Linked DNA regions of Homo sapiens: region 1 is linked to region 2. Evidence: promoter capture Hi-C in human tissues and cell types (Jung and others, 2019). All regions are on one chromosome and are shown on one strand. Each heading gives the region's core, a stretch centred on a gene start or on the middle of the fragment in contact. The rest is flanking DNA. Distances are from core to core; before and after follow the strand shown.

Region 1 (3,700 bases), core at 443-2,942, 38 kb after region 2:
TTTATAATCTTGAGACTTTGTATACTGCAGAAAATTCTATTTGGTAGAGACAGCTGTGTGTTCACTTGTGTTATAAACTTTATTCATCATGGGAAATTGAATTTTCTGTCTTGTTTTGTTATAATTAAGCCACTAATTATCACCATACTTGTTAAAAAGTTTTCAATGTTTACCATGTAAATTTCCCAGATATTTCCTCCTTGTAGTTGTATAGGTGAAATATGAGATGGAGTTTATAAAATATTCATGTCTAAAATACAACACAAAATCTCATCTTGCATAGGTTCAAGAGAAAAGACCTATAAACACTGACACATGTTGATCCTCTGAAATAAAAGCAGCATTCCCCCATGTCACCCTCCAGGGAAGCAGCCCCTCTCCTTTAGACAATCTCTGCCCAAGCATATAGAGATTCCAATCTCTCTTTTTTTCAATGCCTCACTCTTAAATATAACCGGTCATCCATGGGACATCCAGATATTTGAGAAAATCTTTCAACATTTAAGATAGAGAACAAAATAATCAAGAAGAAACCTCCCAGAGAAAGCAGAGACAATGCAACAGAAGAACACTTTAGATTAGAAGAGCAATGCTATCTATAATAAAATAATCAAGATGTTATATAAAGAGGGGTGTTCAGAAATAGCAAGAAAGAGGATACCATCAACTTTAAATGGGAAGTGGAGCAAGAAGACTTGATGGACAATAGGAGAGAAAAGAACAAATTAAAGATCAATCCAGCAGGCCTAACATTAGTCTAATAGGCACAAAAGTAATAGAGAACAGAAAAAATGGAGTGGAAAAAACTGTCAGGGAAAGAATACAAGACAATTCTGCAGAACTTTAGGATAGAAGGTTTCAAATTTAAGAGCCCACTGAGTACTCAGCAACACGGCTAAAAAAAGACCACACCAGAGCACATCATTATGAAATTTTAGATCGCTAATTATAAGGGTTAACTTTATTGTATCAGATTTTGACTTCTTGACTTCAACACTGAAAATTAGGTGCAAATGAAGAAATGACTTCAGCATTCAGGGAAATACTGCCCAAACTATTGATCAAGAAGGTGTGCAGAATAAAATGTCTTAGACATCCAATTTTTCAAAGACTTTACCTGCCATGCACCCTTTACAAGAAGGTAGTAGAGGATGTGTCTCAAAAACACAAGGGGTTGAAAAGCAAAAAGAAGGCATAGGATACAAGAAAGAGGTGATCTGGCACAAGAAAACAGTAATGGAATTCCCAGAATGATGGAGGAAGAACACCCAGAAATCCTCTAGGGCAACTATGCCTGAAAGGAGCAAGATGACAAAAGTTGCAGGGAAAAATGTCTCAAGAGGCAAAGAAAGGATTCACAGTTGAGTCCTGCTGAAGGGTTTAATGATCATTGAATTAATGGGTACATATAAAAAAAAAAGAAAATGAAAAAAAACAGGCAATTAACTCCAAGAAAAGTAAAGTGCTGTACAGCAAAGGAAGTTTAACCATAGTAACTATAAATAGCACAATGAAAAGATTTTTTACTTAGTCATAAAATGCCCTATTTGATATAATCCAAACCTAAGCCAATTCGCTTTCATTATAAAGTGGGGTACCTGGGGGAGACTGTTATACAAAATAAGGCAATGTTCCTGTAATCCTGCTGGAAATAAAACTGTTTCTACTTGGGATCAAGTATGTTAGAACAGGTTGCTATATACTTCCTGAAGATTGTTTGCAAGACACAGAAATCCACCTGAGGATGCTTAAGTAAAAAAGGAGTTTAAGGGATATGCACAGAATGCAAAGCAGGAAGCACCCCAGGCCTCATGGGAATGGAAAGTCCTCAGAGCACAACCTTCTCCTTCCTTCTCCTTCCCTTTCTGGTGTCTCCTATCTATGCATATCTCCTTTCTCCTCTCAATGCAAACTACTTCCTTGAGTCTTAGTTTCTGTTTAGACCCTGGCTTGATTGAGATTCTGACTTTCCTGATGCTGTCAGGGAGAAAATAAAGAAAATCAAGAGAGGCTCTAGATACTTTCTGAATAACAAGTAAAGACAAGCACAAATTTAAGTTCCAGAATAATTCAGAGAAGCTGTACAGTGTAAGTTAGAAATCACAGTGCGAGTTTGTGTATTCCATTTTTAAGGGAGTGGCAGAGACTAATAAGTATTCACCATTATCTACTGTCTCTTCTTTTGATAATCAAACCTCCACATTTTAGCAAGGCACATGGCTACCTAGCTAGAGATATTCACAGGCCTCAGCTGGAGCTGGACAGATGTGGCCATGTGACCTGGTTTTGGTCAATAGAATGTTAGCAGAAATTATGTGTCTACTTGCAAGGAATATCTTGCTTTCCATTGCCTATATTGCTTCCCACATACCAGAATCCCTAGCTACTGTAACTTAGACTTGCTAATTTTTGAAGTTTATTTCTTTTAAACTCATAATCCACAGATTTCCCCTCTGTCCCTTTCTTTTCCTGACAATTTATCTGTTGAGGAACCCAGGCCCTTTGACATGTAGTTTCTCACAGTCTGGCTTTTGCAACTGCATGCTCACAGTGAAGCTTAGCCTGTTCCTCTGTCCTCTGGTATTTCCCTTCCCTGGCAGCTGGATTTAGAGGATTGATCCAACTCAGATTCAAAGCCCTTGATAGGCCACAGGTGGTACTTTGTTTTCTCATCAGTAATCCTAATTGAGAATGCAAATTTATTATTCAAAATTCACAAAATTAAATAAGTATAACAAATTTAAATACTTAAGCTTTTAAAGCAGAGGTCCCCAACACCCAGGCTGTGGACCCATCTCCTGTCAGATCAGTGGCAGCATTAGATTCTCATAGGAGTGCGACCCCTATTGTGAACTGTGCATGTGAGGGATCCAGGTTGGGTGCTCCTCATGAGAATCTAATGCCTGATTATCTGAGTCTGAGGTGAAACAGTTTCATCCTGAAACCATCCCTCTATGCTCCCCTTCCGTGGAAAAATTGTCTTCCATGAAACTGGTCCCTGGTGCCAAAAAGGTTGGGGACTGCTGTTTTAAAGGATGTGTTTTATAAATTCCTAACATTTGTTTTCCTGAAATTTTAGAACTTAATATTGCCCTAAAACTTTTGGGACACTATATTTATAAAGCGATGATAAAATACCTCCTGGATTCATATGGATACTTTGGATTCAAATTCAGCACTCTAGGGCTTTTACTCTCCTCATTTTGGTACTACTGTATCTCCTTTGGTTTACATTCAAATTTCAGATTCCCAAGGAAAAAAGAGAATTACAATATCAGTGTTTAGGTATTCTTAACCATAACATTAAATATGCGTAATAAAAAGGACAGCAGATACACAATTTTGTGTAATCCACTCTTTGATTTAGAGATACAATTAATGAAATTAATATTGTATGGGTAAACTGTTTTAAGACTGTATATATGGAAATAAATTATTGTATGCCCCAATATCTTTGATTCAGCCTTGATTAAAATTATACTTAACATAGAGTGCAAATTGTTTTTAAACAGGAACTTGTAGGAAACCTCCAGGAAGCTGTTGATACAAGTGTCTTTGAGAGTCGAAAGCATTGAAAGTGCTGGATTAACAGTTAGCCTTTATTTAGATAGATAAGGCAGATGGTGAGTAAATACTTCCAATATGATTTGCCATAAACTGTAACTTAAATATATAATTACTCTGTTTTTTACTGTACGTT
Region 2 (3,748 bases), core at 1,146-3,645:
TAAAACAGTGGCCAGGAAAGATTTGGCCTGTGAGCTGTGGTTTGCTAACTCCTGTTTTAGAGTGTGATTCTACAAATGTGAACCCTGAATCTGAGCTTGCATATCACCTGGGAACTTGTTAAGAATGAAAATTCTTTAAAAATGTCTGAATTAGAAACTCTGGGGAATGGGGTCCAGCCATCTTTTTTTCTAGAAGCCTTGCTGGTGATTCTGAGCTGGTGATTCTGAAGACCACTGCTATATGTCATCTGCGCCTATATCTACATTTAGATAGATATAGATTTATGTATTTGTTTATTTATTTTGGGGGCATACTGTTCCCACCCCTGCATGCTGATGCCCCAGACTTCTTTTTCCGCAAGCAGTAAGGCCTTCATTTAAAGGAAAATCGCTTTGTATTTCCCTTTCATTCACCATTGAAAGTAATATCCAAAATGGCTACATTCTGAGAAGAAATTTAACAACTTTCCTATTCACAGAAGTCTCAGGATTTCGAGAACGTGGGATTGGCAATGGAATTTCTGTAAGTATTGTTTTTGTTGAACAGGTACCTTGGGAGAAAGGAGAGGAGCAGCACTGAAAATGTTTCCTCAAGCCTCACCTACTCCCAGGTGTCTTGGCGGGGACTCCAGGAACAAATGCCTTCAAAATGAGGAGATAATTTCATTTCCATCGCTATCCTCATTACCAAATTGAAACCGGAGATAATGGCTTTCATGTCACCTCACTTGCCAAGATACACTCAAAACCCGTCAAGTCAGGTTGTCAAAACGACACCAGCAGCTAAAACATACAAAGAGCCTCGGCCTCCATCGCCACAATCCCTGGCGGATGCAGCACCAGAAACAGCAGCCGTGGCGTCTCAAAGTTTACGCACGCGTTTTTCAAAATTAAAACTATGCATCTGCAAATCACTCTGGCTGGCTTAAACCTCTTTTTCCCTTTCTATGCCAACACCGGGGAGAAGATCGTCCCAGACGCCATTCGCCCATTTCTGATACCACTGAAGTCATGAGCAGGTCTAACAAAATAAAACATCACCCAGCCGTCGGGAAGTAGAAGACTCCTGTTGCCAAGGAGAAACTAAGTTCTGCTCCTCCTAAGGCGCAAAAATGACCTCGAGATCTCCCCAGAAGGAAGCAGAGAGGAGGGAGTTCTGCCACATGGAGAGGGTTTTGCTGGGCTAGGGAGACACCGCCGGGCTCAGCCTTTCCCTTCCTTTCTCTAACTTTCCCTCATTTCGCTCCGCAAACTGAGTTATATCTCGGGGCTGTGGAAGGAATCCAATTTGGGGAACTCAGCAGCAAACCTTCCTGGCCCAGGGCGCAGCTCGCCTGGCGCCGCGTCCATCCCGATCCGCTCCACCCTTCCCGCCCCGCATCCGCGGCCGGACAGTCTCAGTGCCCTGCTGCCTCGGGGCCCGGGGACTCACAATTACGGGCAGAGAACACATAGTGAAGAGCACGGTCATCAGCGCCAGCAGCAGGAGGTGATCCAGCTCCTCCAGGGGCTGAGGGGACGCTTCCCTCCCGTCCGCGCGCGGCTCGGCACAGTCCCTGGTGCAGGAGCGCGGGTGCCGCTGCAGCCGCCGGTGCATCGCATAGAGGTTGCGCATGGCGCCGAGGTTGCACAGCACGGTGGCGAGGACCAGCAGCGCCATGAGGCTGGAGTAGAGCACAGAGTACCCCAGCACCGACAGCGAGCCCTCCTCGTGGACCATCTGGATAAAGCACCAGGTGCCGGGGCAGTACTGCACGAACTTCCCGAAGCCCATGAAAGGTAGCGCGCAGAAAGCCAGGGAGAAGGCGCTCACCACCGGGGCCACCAGTGCGCCCAGGCGCAGGGTGATGTGCCGTCGGTAGAAGAAAGGGTGCCCTAGGGAGAGCCAGCACTCCAGTGCCATGGCCAGGAGTTGCAGTGTCGAGGAGAGCCCAAAGAAGGACATGAAGAAGGCGAAGGCTTGGCACAACGAGTTGTCCAATGCGGGCGCAAGCACCCGCAGACTCCGGTTCTGAGCGTAGGCAGCCAGCACCACCGGGCTTAGGAGGCACTTGCCCAGCAAGTCGGTGACCGTCAGGCCACACACCAGCATGTAGAAGACCGAGGGCAGCGGGCGCAGTGGACGCCGCGAGCACCACCCCAGCCCCGAGCGCGCCAGCAGCCCCAGGGCCAGCAGGTTGCCCAGGAGGCCGGTGCTGAAGAGCACCCCGCCCATCACCGCCGAGTTGCCTTTTTCCACAGAGGTGGTGTTCTGGCAGCGGTAGAACGGCGACTTCATGGCGTGCGGGAGCAGAGGGCTGGAGTGAAGGCTGCGGAAGGGCGAGGGCCCCGGCGCCCGGGTGCTAAGGAGCCCCCGGCAGCTCCGCGCGCGGCTCGGGCGGAGAAGCTGCGCCACAGAAAAAGCTCCGAGGGCGGCGGGGTGTTCCCCACGGCAGGAACCTCCTATCTAAACTCGCGGGTCACACCCCTCTTTGAGAGGCGGGACGCTCTGCAGGGTGAGCGCCTGGCGCTGGCATTGAAGAGCGCGGAGCAGGCCAGTGAAGAGCTCGGCCCTGACGCGCTGCGTTCTCAGTAGAGACAGACTCTGGTGCCGAGTCGGAACGGCAGGAGGAAAATAGCCAGAATTCCAAGCACCCAACACCAGTCCTTCTAGCGAGGCAAGAGAAGAACTACTAAAGTGGAGGGGAAATTAAGCAGCAGCCACCTGAGAGGAGGGCAATGGTGCTGGTGTTTGAACTGGGGTGGCCAAGAACTCGAAAGATGAGCGAAGAGGGGAGGCTGAGAAAGGGCTTCTACCTAGTTGTCTTGAATTAGCTAGTCAAGGAAAGGTAAAGATAACTCACGTCTGGAAAGCCCCTGAGCCTTAGCTCCTCTTCTCTACTAGATCAGCGCAATTTGGGGCATTCACGGTCATCTCCATTGCATAGGCGAGGAAACTGAGGCCTTGGAAAGTTAAGTGATCTGCCCGTGGTGACAGAGCTACAGAAGTAGCAGAGCCGGACCTCTCACCCGATCTTCTATTTTGGAGTTCATCTGTCCTGTTCCCATGACTCCTCCTCCCAAGAAGTTGTCCAGATTTCAGGGAAGTGGTTTGTGGGAAAGCCAAGAGCCGGTGTTGGTCCTGGGTGCCATGAATCACATTGACTGTAGAGAGCTGGGGGGAAGGGCATGGTTAGCAGCACTGTTGCTGTCATCAGATAGGCCTGGGTTTGAGTCCAGGTTCTGCTCCTCACTGTGTGTGTGACCTTATGGGACTTGCTTAGCCTCTCAAGCAGTAACATCTATCTGGCCTGCTTGGCTCTTCTGAGGCATAGAAATAACACGTAAAGAGCAAGTACATAGAAAGTGCTCAATTCATGCAATCACCATGATTCTTATTTGATAGAAGGGTGTTTTGGTAGCTGATGTTTAACTGCAGTTTTTAGCATGGATTTTGAAATCAGAAAATGGTAGATTTGGCATAGAGCTTTCTCACTCCTCTGATTTGTGGCTACTAGAAAAAATTTATTCCTGTTTGGGCTTTGACTTGGCTGCATCATAAAGGCAAGGGAGTTAATTGTGATAAGCGTGATTTTATATCTTTAACTAGCATTCGATGCCCTGTGAGAGAAATTGGCTTTGAGTGTGGAATCTCAGTGGGATGACTAAGGTTTTGTTATGTAAGTGAGTAGATGATGCCTGGGCTTGAAACGGCTCATTTTTAGGCCTCATGCCAGTTCTGATGGACAGACTCAGGGAAAGAGCAAGA

The links. Contacts are between HindIII fragments. The study calls those that stand out against the background at their distance.
Region 1: a contact is called between a fragment that was not itself captured here and the fragment with the promoter of PTGDR in region 2, in 2 of the 25 tissues and cell types used here (bladder and mesenchymal stem cells).

What each region holds. Positions count from the first base shown.
Region 1 is chr14:52,228,062-52,231,761 of GRCh38, reverse strand. No RefSeq gene overlaps it. Among named protein-coding and RNA genes, the nearest start is that of PTGDR, 38 kb to the left of the region's middle. The HindIII fragment of the contact is 3,210 bases long and covers 88-3,297 here.
Region 2 is chr14:52,266,345-52,270,092 of GRCh38, reverse strand. It overlaps PTGDR (prostaglandin D2 receptor), which reads right to left and starts at 2,395. Exons shown (of 2, transcript NM_000953.3): 1 at 1,433-2,395. The coding sequence starts at 2,278. The HindIII fragment of the contact is 10,952 bases long and covers 1-3,748 here.